2 separate regions of the Homo sapiens genome follow, and region 2 is linked to region 1. Evidence: promoter capture Hi-C in 16 types of primary human blood cells and fetal thymus (Javierre and others, 2016). All regions are on one chromosome and are shown on one strand. The core of a region is centred on a gene start or on the middle of the fragment in contact, and the rest is flanking DNA. Distances in the headings are between cores, read along the strand shown.

What was found. The method cuts DNA at HindIII sites, captures the fragments that hold promoters and counts their contacts. A CHiCAGO score of 5 or more calls a contact.
Region 2: a fragment that was not itself captured here is called in contact with the fragment with the promoter of ELOVL4 in region 1 in 1 of 17 cell types (neutrophils); the score reaches 5.8 in neutrophils.

Annotation. Positions count from the first base shown.
Region 1 is chr6:79,943,047-79,950,015 of GRCh38, reverse strand. ELOVL4 (ELOVL fatty acid elongase 4) reads left to right here and starts at 2,463. Exons shown (of 6, transcript NM_022726.4): 1 at 2,463-2,836. The coding sequence starts at 2,737. It overlaps LOC124901350, which reads left to right and starts at 383. Exons shown (of 2, transcript XM_047419628.1): 1 at 383-448; 2 at 2,005-2,629. The coding sequence starts at 2,201. The coding sequence ends at 2,629. It overlaps LOC124901351 (a long non-coding RNA gene), which reads right to left and starts at 2,211. Exons shown (of 3, transcript XR_007059656.1): 1 at 2,089-2,211. RefSeq lists a silencer at 2,354-2,403. The HindIII fragment of the contact is 8,446 bases long and covers 1-4,650 here.
Region 2 is chr6:82,165,083-82,172,051 of GRCh38, reverse strand. It overlaps IBTK (inhibitor of Bruton tyrosine kinase), which reads left to right. Exons shown (of 29, transcript NM_015525.4): 29 at 496-2,065. The coding sequence ends at 627. Among named protein-coding and RNA genes, the nearest start is that of LINC02542, 67 kb to the right of the region's middle. The HindIII fragment of the contact is 1,874 bases long and covers 3,472-5,345 here.

The DNA.
Region 1 (6,969 bases), core at 1,214-3,713:
GGAGGATTGCTTGCAGGCAGGAATTTGAGACCAGCCGGGGCAACACAGCCAGTCCTCCTTCTCTATCAGCTATTTAGGAGGCTGAGGCAGGAGGATGAGGCAGGAGGATAGCTCGAGCCCAGGAATTCGATGTTGCACTAACCTATGATTACACCACTGCAATCCAGCCTAGCTGATAGAGTGAGACCCTGTTTCTAAAAAGAAAAAAATATTGCTATTTTATACAAAAAAATTTATGATAAAATGTCCTCTCCTTTAGGTTTTGTAGGTAACTGTATCCTATTTGCATTTGATCCACATGAAAGAACTCTGTTCTCAAAGTTTGCAGATGCTGTTGTTGCTTGTATTTGCTTTTACTCTGTTATGATGCTACCAAGATTTTGGTTAGATGGCTGTTATTCTAGGTGGCAGACATGCGGGTTTCCCTCCCTTTGCACAACTAAACAAGGTAGGCTTTGGTTCTGGGCAGTCACTGGTATTTACAAACCACTTATTCATGCCAGGTAATAGGGTTCCAGATTGGGTAAGTTTTATGTTCTGGTTCTTGGTATATGTTTAGACAGCTTATAAATGTAAATAAACATTCTACTCTTACAGGTGGAGTGTGGACACGGTGATATCCGTGTGACCGCCATTCCCAGCTGAAGGTTATCTCATCTATGATTTTCTTATACGTGACTGGCACCCCCTAGTGAATAGGGACTTAAGTTGACCTCCACGGTAGAAGAAATACCAGGGAAATACCTGAAGCTGTTTTAACAATTTCTCCTTGTATTAAGTATTATGCTGCAGTTTTGCGTGTGTGAATGGAAGTATGGGTAGAGATCTGTTCTCCCTAAAAACTCCAGGATTCCACAATATAGAAATAGTAATCAAATTTTTAGGTGAAGCTCGAACTAATCCGAACTTTGTTAGATCATCACTGTAAATGAATGGGTATTTATCCACTCCCTAAATGAAGAGACTTGACTGGATTTCTTTTTTTTATATAGCTACTAGAATCTGTTACACATAATTTAGGATTGAGACTTGAGAAATTGTCATTCCAATCCAGAAAACTTTAGATTTGCAAATATATTTGACAAATTAATAAATTAACATTTTATTTGGTTAATTTCAAGAATAGGGCATTTAAAGAAGTCTGTGTTTGCTTTAGTTCGGCAATAAAGTTCCTGCCACTCACAATAATCCTTATTATTCTCTGAAAGACATGTTATATTTTTGTCATCATAAATATTTATTAATTACTGTTTATAGCACTGGGTTAGGTACTCATCAAGCAACCAAAAATAATTCTTACCATCTAGGATGCTTCCAATATAAAATATAGACAATATATAACCAGGTCAATTGGGAAATAGATCATTTCAGTATGATAAAAGATAGTATTCACATTAACAGTGTGAAAGGGCAGGAACAATAAGACACTTGACTCACTGGTCTTTAAAATGTAGCATCCAAAATGAGCAAGTGGAGAAAAGGTTAAACAAGTAGGTGACACATTTAAAAAACAAGTAGATGAAAGGACTATTCTCAAAAATCTTGTTTTATGTGAGAAACCATCAAATTATGAATTCCAAGTACTGTATTTTTTTTACTTTTCAAGGGTAGGCTCTCCTATACCTTATCTAAACAATTTTTCAAAATAGCCACAATTACTTTGTTTTCCTCTCTACACTAAATTGCCCTTTGCCTCTTGAGCGATTATCTTTTTCAGATTCACCTCAACTTCTTCAGGTTCAAGCGGACTTCACCTGTAAGCCCCTCTCGGTTCTCCCTCTTCTCTGAACTACTAATGGCCTAATTTAGCACAATTATATTGCTTTGTTCATTCCATGTATAGTAAAAGAGTCTACAAAACACATGCAAGCATTCATGCAATTATATGTTGATTTGTTCATGGGTCGACCCCAAAGTCTATTCTCCATCGCTGAAGCATGGAAGACAAATACCCTTCACTTCTTCAGAGGCATAACACATGCACTTCTCTTGTCATGGTGACAGGCATGTGCTGGTGGAGGTCAAAGAAACAGGAACACAAGTGAAATCGAGGTGAGTGTCAGGTAAGGACCAAAGCACCACGCCTACCTCATCTTTGCCCACAGAACACCCATTCTTCCCGTGTCCTGTTTCCCAGGACGTATCCGGGGCGGATAAGAAATCACCCGTGGGGAGGCGGTGAACTCCTCCGCAGGGGCCGATGCCCGGGACAGGGGCGGGGAAGGCTAATGAGGCGACTTGTGCGGGGAGGGGCCAAGGAGGAGCCCAGGTGTCCCGCTCCCGCTCGACGGCGCGCGCCTGCGCGAGCCCAGTTGGCGTCGCACCCTTGAGCGCAGCATCCCTACGCCAGCGAGTCCCAATACTAGGGAGGGAGGGAGGGAGGAGGGGCGGCCGGCCCCCCGCCCCCGCGCGCGGCCACGTGACGCCGGCTGAGGAGATTGGAGGGGCGGCTGCGCGAGGCTGCAGACTGGTGCAGCGCACTGTGCTGGCGGCTGGGCCTCCTCCACCTCCTCGTCTTTCTCCCGGGAACCTTGACGACGCCTTCCGCTTGGCCCTGCCTTCTGCCGCATCCCCGCCGCCGCGGCGCCTTGAGGAGCAGGAGAAGACGCAGCCGGGCCGCCGCCGTTAGAGGGGTTCCCGGCCGCCGCTCGCCCCGTCGGCCGCCACCGCCTCCGGGGTCAGCCCTCTCTCTGGGTCTCCGCTTTCTCCTGCCGCCAGCGCCCGCTCATCGCCGCGATGGGGCTCCTGGACTCGGAGCCGGGTAGTGTCCTAAACGTAGTGTCCACGGCACTCAACGACACGGTAGAGTTCTACCGCTGGACCTGGTCCATCGCAGGTAAAGCCGCTGACTTCCCCATCCTCGCTCGGTCCCCCGCGGGGGGTCACCGGCCCCTGGTCTCGCAGCTCCCGGGCCCGGCCCCACAGGCCCCCGCGCCCTGCGGCTTTCGGATGCTGCGGATCAGCGGAGGGGCCGGCGCGGGCACTGCGGTTGAGCACTGGTTAATCTGATCCGAATGTTAAGGCCTCCCCTCCCCCGACACTCGCAGGGTTTTCTTCTGAGCTCCCTCCATCTCTCATCAGCTCTCGGATGCGGGAGCTGACATATCAGATGGAGCCTGTGCAGCCAGGAGCTCCTCGCAGGAGCCGCCCCACCCTGTGCTCCCACATCTCCCGAGCTCGCCTCCCTCTTCCCCGTGCACAGGATTCCTTTTAACATTTAGTCCTATTTTGTATGGAGAGCGGGCTGGGGAGGAAGGAGGGCTTCAGGGGCAGCTGAAGGTACAGGAGGTTTCTTCAGCCTCCTGGTCGCTTTGACAGAACCCTGCTAATCTTTTCTTCTATCTAGCTCCTTCATCTATAGTATAATTCGGACTGAAAAGTAAAATAATATTGTTTGGCTCCTTGAACCTTGAAGAATGTTAGTTTCCGAGGCATTTTCAACAGCAAATATGTTTGAAGTGATTGTCTATAATGGCTTTGCGCACTGCAGTGCAGTCAGGGGGAGGGGGAGGCCAAAACACCGGGGAAGAAATCAGTCTTTAGGAAGGGGGTCTCTACAGCAACACCTAGAGGTTGTCCCAGATGCCTACATATATACAGTTCTTAAATCAGCAAACTTTTCTTTAGCTGTTGCAGTTAATTTGGCAGGGCTGTCAATTGTTTGATTTATGCAGCTTTCCTAGCGTCCAACTGTGATATTATATTTTTACATTGTACTGTTTATTTCTTCATTTGCTTCGCTGCTTTTGATTTTAAAGCATTTAAAAGTCTTTGAAATCTAAAATAAGGTTTAAAGGATTTCAGAAATGATTTTACGAGGTCAATTTTTCTGGTCCTTTTGCAGTATCACACTGCATCCTATCAGTGAAGGATATTAACGTTCCATCTTATGACTCTGCCTTCCCTACTTCGAAATGAAAATGTACTCCTGTAGTTTTTGTGTTCATTGTTGTTAGAGGAAATTAGACAGTGGTTACAGCATGAATGTAGTCCGATACATAGGGCTTATGTTTTGGGAAAAACGTATGCTGGAATTATTTTTGTGAGAGACAAAATGATTATTTGGCATTAATACTGCATTCACTTCTTTAGAAAAGTATGTTCTTTTTCAGAAGATCTCAACTTTGACACTGGGAAATAAGCTATTTAATAAGCCATTACAGCTGAAAATGGTTAAAAGGCAGTTTTCAATGGAGTGTTTCTTCAGTTTTTTTTTTTGTTTCTATGCGCTATTACACTGATGTTACACTGTACCTGCAAAAACTGGGAAAGATGTGCCCTTCCCTTCACGTCTGTGATTTCGGTTCTTTAAACGTTGCATCAGGGCTTCCCATTACACAATTGTATAGAGCTGAACATCAGACAAGTTCTTTAGCAGGTAATTGCACTTCGCACACCTAGGAGTCAGACACTGTTGAGATACTCCAGTCTCCATATAGCCAGAGCCACACCCAGGAGTTCTCGGTCCTGTCATTCCTATCCTATCCCGGAGCTTTCCCATCTCTTGAGTCTCAGAAGGAAAAATTGAGGGCAAAGGTAGAATACACCTTTCTGTGATGGTGAATTCCTTCCTGATGATGTTTGTGTAAAAGAAACCACACACACACAAATGAAACAGGAAATTTTGTGCAGTTGCCGCATGTGAAAGCTTGCTACTAGGCTTCGAAGGGCATATAAAATAATATAATATTGTGGGCCAAGCCTGAGAAGTGAGAGTAGCCTTAGAACACAAGTGACCTCTCACTAGCAGGCCGAAGGAAGGTATTTGCCTATGCTTTGACTATCCACTTACGAAACCTGAGACTGCTTCCTTGCTTTCTGTAATGAGCTACCTTATGTAGGCAGATGGTATTTCTTAACCAACAGAGAGGCTTAGTGGATATAGTCTGTTCTGCTGTACTGCTGTGTGAGGAGGAGTATTTTTCAGGTCCAGGCCGAATAGACCTGAAGTCTGTGGTGTCCCATTTACGTTTACTCTCCCTCATTCTATGCCCCTCGTGTTCCTTTTTTTTTTTTTTTTTTTTTTTTGGACTCATTCACTCTGCTCTGATTCCACCTCTCAGCATAATTTGATGAAAATCTGGGTGGGGGATATCAAAATAGAAAAGTAGCTTATAAGATGAGGTTAAACAAAAGTTGGTGAGTCAAATGTTTGGAAAGAAGGGGAAACAGAAATGGGCGGGATAGAAAGATGGTCTTGAGAAATAGTGATGAGTGTGGTGAAAGGATGCAAATTATTGAGGGAGAGCAAGAAATGAGGTAGGCTCCTTGTCCTTGGCTGCTCTCATTCCTAGTGCTGTAGTTACATGCTTCTTTCATTCTTTTATTAATTCATTAAATGCCATTTTGTGCTATTATATCAAATGGTGCTTTAAATATCCAAACATATCCAAAGCAATGTCTGAAAACTGGGCTTTTCAGAGGCACATATGTAGCAAATACAAAATATGGTCCATAATAATGTTAACAACAAAAATGTTACTTTTACTACAGTATTAACACTTTGTACATTGGAATTGAAAGTTTGAAAGAGCTATACTTTTAGAAAAACAACAAAAATAATTTTTATTTCTCTGTATTTGTAGACATTTTGAACGAGGAAATTAGCGTTGGTTTATGTTAAAGTATAGGCTGGTGTAGGACTTTATACTAGTTGTTAGTATTAGAGTAGGTATTCCATGTCATCATGTTAGTTTTTTTCTTCTATTCTTTCACTTCATGAGTACATTTAAATTATTAGGATTGGAGTCCTAGGCTCAACGTATACATCTAATAAAAGTTGTATATACATTTTTTAAACTGATGAATCTAAATATTCCCCAATCTATGAATACCCAACTTATCTACATTATTCATTTATTCATGCTTTTAATAAATGTTTAATAGCTTTTTTGCATACCTGACATTTAGCATATAAACACCCTAGAGAGTTAGTAGGATGCTTACGGTAAAGCCAGGTGTCTCCTGTGAGGCCATGTATCTTCTGACCATTTGTTTCTAAATAGCTGTTGTTCACAGGGTATGGGTGCTGTCTGTTGGTTGGGGGTGGTAATGATTGGCATTGGCCCTCTTTTCGCAGATATAGTACCCTGCATTTTGGTGAAAAAAATTGTCTACTTGGTAGTTGCAGTTAGAACATAACTTGCTGGGTCCTTGAATTAACTTTGGAGGGGTCAGAAAGAAGGGATGAGTGGTACAGGAAGAGGGAGGAGAGCTGTAGGATGACGAAATGTGGAAGCCAGGCTTATGATACCATTTCTTTCCGTATTTACTTGCCATGTACAGGCACAGTTCTAGGCTCTGGAAAGGAAAGGAGGACACTTGGTCACTGCCCTCATGCATCTTGCAAAGTCTAGGGGGTCACTGTCATTCCCCTTTCCTTGATATCATGGTCTGGAGGCAGTGTGATCTGTCAGACTCAGGACTAGCTGGGGCCTAGGGAAGATCAGAAAAGTCCTTCCCTGCTCTTCTCATCTCTACTTCTCCTAAGTGAAAGGAATATACAGTTGTTTTTAGAATATTTTAGCTGTTTCACCACAGTTTACTTCCCTCTACCCTTGAATGAGGAGTTGATGTGAGTACTGTCAGAGTATTTGGAGAGGCATACTAGGGCAAAAGGTGTCAAAGGCAAGGGGAACAGCTTGACTGAAAACCATGGAAACTGGGAAGGTGCTTAAGGGTCAGGCCAGTGAGTCATCCAGGTTTGATGAAGCTGGGGGCTAGTGGGAGGGGATGTTTAACTCAGCTCAAATAAGCTGAAGTAAAAGCAGGTTTGTCTTAGGGATTGCTAGGTCCCAGAGGAGCATGTATTTTAAGTATTGTACAGTATGCTTACATTAATTTTATTATTCGTCACAGTTAATGTTTAGTTTTTCATCTATGTTATTATCTAAAATAGGTTTATTTGTTTGGCTAAGCCTGGTAATGCAGTTTTCTTTGAATGTTTCTTTGAGAAAAGACATTCTGATT
Region 2 (6,969 bases), core at 3,159-5,658, 2.2 Mb before region 1:
TCTAAGATTGTAAGCAACAGAAGCCCACTCTGGCTAACTTAAGGAAAAGATAATTTATTTGAGGGATATTAAGATTCCATAGACTTAGCTGAAAGACCAGACAGCCAGGCTTGGAAACAGAAAAGACGCATAGTAGCACTGGAAAGCTCAGAAGCAAGATTTAGAAGACTTGTACAACAACAGAAAGTATCTCACAGAATAAAGCTATTGGAATGAATGAATTTTAGCAACCATTTTCAGTTTCTTTTTCCTTCTGCTCAAGATTCAAATTGAAGAGCGCATGGGTATCTCATGATTCTACCTCACACCTCAAGCTTTCTCCTTGCCACAGAGATAGCAGGATACCTGATTTAAAATGCAGGATACCTGATTTAATTTCACTGTATTGTATCCATGGAAAGTGATAGTTCCTCAAAAGGAAATTGGAAGGCAAATACATCCTGCTTAGTTTATAATTAAAAGAGTAAAGAGTCTTCTTTCCCTTCCTCCTTTCAGATTGAGGAGCATGCCATACAAGATTTATTGGTTTTCTATGAGGCATTTGGCAACCCTGAAGAGTTTGTCATTGTTGAAAGGACACCGCAGGGACCACTGGCAGTACCTATGTGGAATAAGCATGGATGCTAGTTCACTGTGGAGTTGAGATGCATTTTACATAATTATGAGTTTGTTCATATAAAGAAAAGCTGTGGAAAAGAGTCTTAGAGATTTTGTAATATCATTCTAAATAGATTAAGAAAAGATATAATTTCTTTACTGCAGTTAAATCATATAATGTTTGTATGATTAAAAATAAATTTCTCAGAATTGTGATTTTAGTAACTTTATATAAAATGTGTGAGACAAAAACTTATTAAGGTTAAATAGAATTGTTTCTTCTGAATAATCTAACAAAGGAAAATATAAGTGATTGAATCATAAGATATAAGGGGGGTAAAGTATTAAAAATAACTTTTTTGTTTGATAACTTGAGAATTTAGAAGATTTTGCCAAGTATGTGTTGTTGCTTGACTTCTTAAATATGGCATTGATGAATTTAAAGTAGGAGCATCAGTTATTACTTCTGATTCATTAATGGCCAGAATTTTGTGTTTGGTGTAATAGTTGTGTCACCATTCTTGTTGCTTTTTAAAAATCAGGCTAATCATGTGGTCCATGTCTCTTCAAAGCTTGACCTGCACAAATGCCATATTTCTATTTGGACCACATATTCTCCATTTTGCATTGAGCAGTAGAGTACAGTGGAAAGGGAATAAGAATACTGATTATTCTGAACAGTTTAGTCCCAAGAGAATAGCGTTTTAAAAAAGAAAAACAAGATTTGGAGTCATTGTGGGTTATTTTTGGTGGGATGGAGGATCTTAAAAATGCCTAATTGTGAGAGAATCAATTGCTGAAAGTGTTAAAATTTCTGAAAATAAATGCTTAATTACATATACAGGAATTAAATAGTTTGGAAGAGGGTTGGATTATCATTACCTTTACAATACTGTATAATCAGAAGTTCTCTGAACCTCAATTGTATATCTAGACATAAAAATTGTTTTCTGTATAGGATGTTGTTTGGTTTGTTTCTGAGTGTTTAAATTTTGCAAAAACAAATGTTAAATTTGTGCTTCAGTACCTAGATAAATTGGAAAGGTTAATGTTCTAGTTTCTGGAAGGTAAGCCTGGGAGACACATAAGCAATTCACTGCTATAATTTAGTTGATGTAAAATGACGGAAACTGACTCAATATGTCAGGTTTAACTCTGCCCAAAAGCAGCAGACATGTAAGCAGATGTGCAATAAAAAATGATCTTGATCCATTTCACTAATGTGTGCTTGACATTTTTTACTATATTGACATTTATTATGGAAAGAGTTAATAATTATTTTTTCTGATGTGCTACACTAGTGGCCAGTATATGGTTAAGTTGATGCTGTATTTATTCTAAGACGGATTTAAAAAGGCAGTTTTCTAAATATGAACTTGTGAATTTTTGTATGTGTGTTTGAGTAAATTGAGAAATGAATTTTATAAATGTTCTATTGATGTTGCAGTAAAGAAGCCTTTTGAAGTAATTGATTTCATTTGAAGCTTTGATTCTTCTGTATATGTTGACATCTTTAATATTTACAGATGCTGTAAAGTGATGATTTTCTTGCTGTCCTCCGTGCTGCCTGGGAAGCACTCTTGGGGGTCTTTGTTGGATGGGGTGTGAAAGAGGGGCAAGAGCTGAACCGCATCTGTGAGGCTTTAGGCAGTTACAAACTACAACCAGAGCAGTTGCACTTTATGGTCTGTTTTATGTAGTGAGGTATTATATATAATTTTATTGGGAAAAAAGGAGTTCTTTTGCTAGTAAAGTTAAAGAGAAACACTGTCATAAACTGTATTTCTTCATAAATAATTCCATGAAGATAGCTATCTGACACATTGCTGTCAAAAAGCCCAGGAAAGTGATAAGGGTTTTCTTTCTCCCCTAACAAAATAACATTATTCTGCTACAGTATTCATCTCTAATTCCATAACCTCAAAAAGACCTGATAGAATTGAATAAATACTGGAAATGACAAATTTAAAATATCAGTGGGATAGAGAGATCTTTAAGATTTATGAAAACAATTACAGAACTCTTTTTTTTTTTTTTTAATTGAGGCACAATCTCACTCCATCACTCAGACTGGAGTGCAGTGGCAGGATCTTGGCTGACTGCAACCTTTGCCTCCTGGCAGAACTCTTCAGCCTGAAAAAGCGATGGTTGGGTAGGACATTGGGATAAGGGTATGTCAGAGGCAGAATATGCTTAAAACTTGCAAAATCAAGAAGACTGCTAATCAGGTAAAGTCAAATTTGTTGACAAAATATTGGGATTCAGGACTCTTCTTCAAGTCCTAAAGAGATGGTTTTTAAAATAAATTTAAGAAAACCTAGCTTTATATAGGAGCAATATCCAGTCATTTGAGAAAGCATTGCTAGTTATGTCTGGGTTGATTCCCTTTAACTGTTTTGGAGGCCAGGGTGTATATATTTGTTCATGATAAGGTGTAAATAGCTCTTTCATAAAATTTTAGATCTGAAGCCTTATTGATTAATTTTAATGTATATTCTCTTCATTTTATAAATTGAAGAAAGCTGGCCGGGCGTGGTGCTCATGCTATAATTCCAGTACTCTGGGAGGGCGATGCTGGTGGATCACTTGAGGCCAGGAGTTCAAGACCAGGCTGACCAACATGGTGAAACCCCGTCTTTACTAAAAATACAAAAATTAGCCAAATGTGGTAGTGGGCGCCTGTAATCCCAGCTACTTAGGAGGCTGAGGTAGGAGGATCACCTGAGTCAGGGAGGCGGAGGTTGCAGTGAACCAACATCATGCCACTGTGCTCCAGCCTGGGTGACAGAGTGAGACCCCATCTCAAAAAAAAATTGTACATATAGTGGTGGAGCCAAACTTGACCTGATGTTTCTCCCAAATATGGTTCAAGCTTTGCTCATGCTGATCTCTACCTAAATTTTTCTTTTTCTTCAGATAAAATTCTACCTATCCATAATTAAGGCAATCAAAATTCTCTTTCCTTTATAGTTTTTCTGGTTTCCCTCCATACACCCTCAAACATAAAGTAACATAAAAACAGTAGCATACATGGATCAGCTATGTTCTCATTTCCTTGTAACCCTATACCTTTCAGGGTACTTGTCATATTCTGCCATTACTTTTGTTTTTCTATTAATCTAGTCTTTTACTAAATTACTTGTACTTTGAGAACATAGACTAGGCATTCTTTTCTTTCTTGTATATGTGTATGTTTAAATCTTTTAAAATCTTGAACCATAACATAAAGAGGTAAGTGCACAAGACAAAAATATTTAGCTAAGTAATTTACCAGTAAGTCAAGAAGTGGACCATGACAGCACTTCAGAAAGAGGTCCTGGATTTGATTTGCTAACATTTCAATGAAGACTTTTGCATCTGTATTCATGAGAGATATCGGTCTGTGGTTTTCTTTTTCTTTTCCTTTTTTTTTCCTATCTTTTACTCTGGTATCACTGTAATAGCAGCCTTATAGAGTGAATTGGGAAGGATTCACTTTTATGGAAGTGTTCATAAATGATTGGTATTATTTCTTATTTAAATATTTGATAGAATTAACTAGTGGAATCATCCAGGTGTGGGATTTTCTTTGTGGGAAGATTTTAAATTATTATTATTTTTTCTATTTCTTTACATATTACAGGCCTGTTGAGATTTTCTATATGTTCTTTATTCAGTTTCAATAATTTGTTCTTTCTAGGAATTTATCTGGTTCATCTTAGTTGTCTAGTTTGTTCATAGTAGTGCCTTACAGTCCTTTTAATTTCATAAGGTTTGGTGGTCAAGTTCCTCCCTACTTTTGTAATTTTGGTAATCTTTATTTTCTCTCTCTCTCTTTTTTTTCTTTAACCATATCAGTCAACATTGAAGTTGTCAAAGAAGTTATTGAAGTCAAAGAACCAGCTTGGGGTTCATTGATTTTTCTCTGCTCTCTTTTCTTTTTCTTTGGTTCTGTTCTCTTTATTATTATTTTCTGCTTCCTTTAGCTTTAATTTGCTGTTCTTTTCTATACATTCAGGCTTAGAGAGTTCTCTTTTTCTCAAATACAGGCATGTAGACCTATAGATTTCCCTCTAAGCACTGCTTTAGCTGCATCTCATAAATTTGTATATGTCATGTTTTTATTTTCATTCAGTTCAAAATATTTTTAAATTTCATCTTGATTTCTTCTTTGAACTATGGATTACTTAAAAGTATATTGTTTAATTTTCAAGTATTTGGGAATTCTTACCAAATATGTGTTTGTTATTGATTGCTAATTTAATTTTGTTAAATTTGGAGAACTTATTTTGTATTGTTTCAGTCCTTTTAAGTTTGTTGAAATATCTTTTATAGTCTAGTATATGTGCTGTCTTGGAGAATGTTCCATGTGTACAGGAGAAGAATATGACTAAATTGACATCAATCTTATGAAATAGTAGCTTGTAGGACTTTGTATGATTGTATGTTTCCTGTGTTGAGGACATAAATGTGTCTACCTAAATAAAGGATAAGAATCTGAGGAACAAAAGAGATGGACCATATGGTAAGGGATATTGCTTATTTGCAGATCCATCCTTTGTTCTCTACTATATCTTGTGAAATTAATCTCTAGGACTTTACCAACCAGCTTATTTTCCCTCTGACATCCAGTTATCACCCTCCAAGTGATTCTGATGTGTACTAAAGTAGGTATTTTGAGCCGTAAGAGAAAGATATGCACAGGCTTGATAACCATTTGGAGCACCAGCAGAATATTGGCGTGTTGGCAGGAGAAAGAGAATGAAGCTTTTTTTTCTGCCCTCTCTCATGATGTTGTTATGAGCCACAATCGGGAAGGTCACAGCTCCTGTCGGGCAGCTCTCTCCGTATGACAATCTCTCCAGCTTCTGGGGATGTTGCTTTCCCACACCCTCAGGCCTAAGAATGGCAAAGGATCTTGCATTGTATCTAGCCCAACTAACTGCAGTATCCATTGTGGTTTTCCTACATCCTACCCAGACTTTTATAAATAATTTAATAATAATTCTCCCAAGTTGAAAGTGCTGTCTGTTTCCTGCTTGGACTCTGAAAGATGATCTAAGTAATGGAGAGAAGTAATAGAATGTAGAGATTTTGTTTGTTTTTTGAGACGGAGTTTCGCTCTTGTCGCCCAGGCTGGAGTGCAGTGGTGCGATCTCAGCTCACTGCAACCTTTGCCTCCTGGGTTCAAGGATTCTCCTGCCTCAGCCTCCCAAGTAGCTGGGATTACAAGCATGTGCCAGCACGCGTGGTTAATTTTTTGTATTTTTTTTTTTTTTTCAGTAGAGACGGGGTTTCACCATGTTGACCAGGCTGGTCTCGAACTCCTGGCCTCAAGTGATCCGCCTGCCTCAGCCTCCCAAAGCGCTGGGATTACAGGGTGAGCCACCGCGCCTGGCCGAATGTAGAGGTTTTGGTTCAAGGATATTTTACCTAGAAATTTGGCAGTGAACAGATTTATGAGAGACATAGATGGTAACTTTTAAATAGACGGTGTATTTGTTTTATATATATTTTTGAAAAAGGAGGTCTGTGCATCTAGAAGGCAGAGAGGAGTCAATGCATATAGAAAGAGACTGAGATGCTGGAAATACAGAAATAACGGTAGAATGAGAAGGAAGATAAAACCAAGAGTACAAATTTAAACTTGTTGGAAAGGAAAGAAGTGCTACTTAATTTTCTTAAACTGAGGGAAAGAAATTGAGGATAATTTTATTGATTCCTAGAGTAGCAACATCAACATCACTGGGAACATGTGATAATACAAATTCATGGGCTTTGCCTCTACTGAATTGGAAACAGGAAGGGGTGCCCGGCAATCTGTTTTAACAAGCCCTCCAGGTGATTCGGATACGTGCTAAAGTAGGTATTTTGAGGCGAAAGAGAAGGGAAGATATGCACAGGCTCGATAGTCTAGAAATATTTTCTATTGCATAGCAAGGGTTGGTAACTGGAAGAGAGTGGAAAACATTTGCTATACAAACTTAAAAGCCTTAAATTTTGTTTATTAGGAATGGGAGGCTTTTCATTAATTGATAATGAGAGGGAGATGTTTGTAAGTTGCTTACTATTAAAATCTCAAATATTTAGTACAGCTTAAAAAGATTTTGAGATGTCTTTGGGTGCCCTAGAGTTCACTAATTTTAATTATTTATAACTTCTGTGAAGAAAACAAAAGTTTTTCCAGCTACATGGTCTGTTAGAAAATAAAAATTAAATGGCTCAGACTAAGAAGATGTGGAAGAAATTATAGGGCCAGACTCATTTTCAGATACTCAAAACAAACGATCAGTTGCCAAGTAATCAAGTACCTTTTTTACATTCTTTCACCTCATCCATTCTTTATACATTTAATTATGTGTGTATGTGCTTTTTAGATCCCATACCTGTATA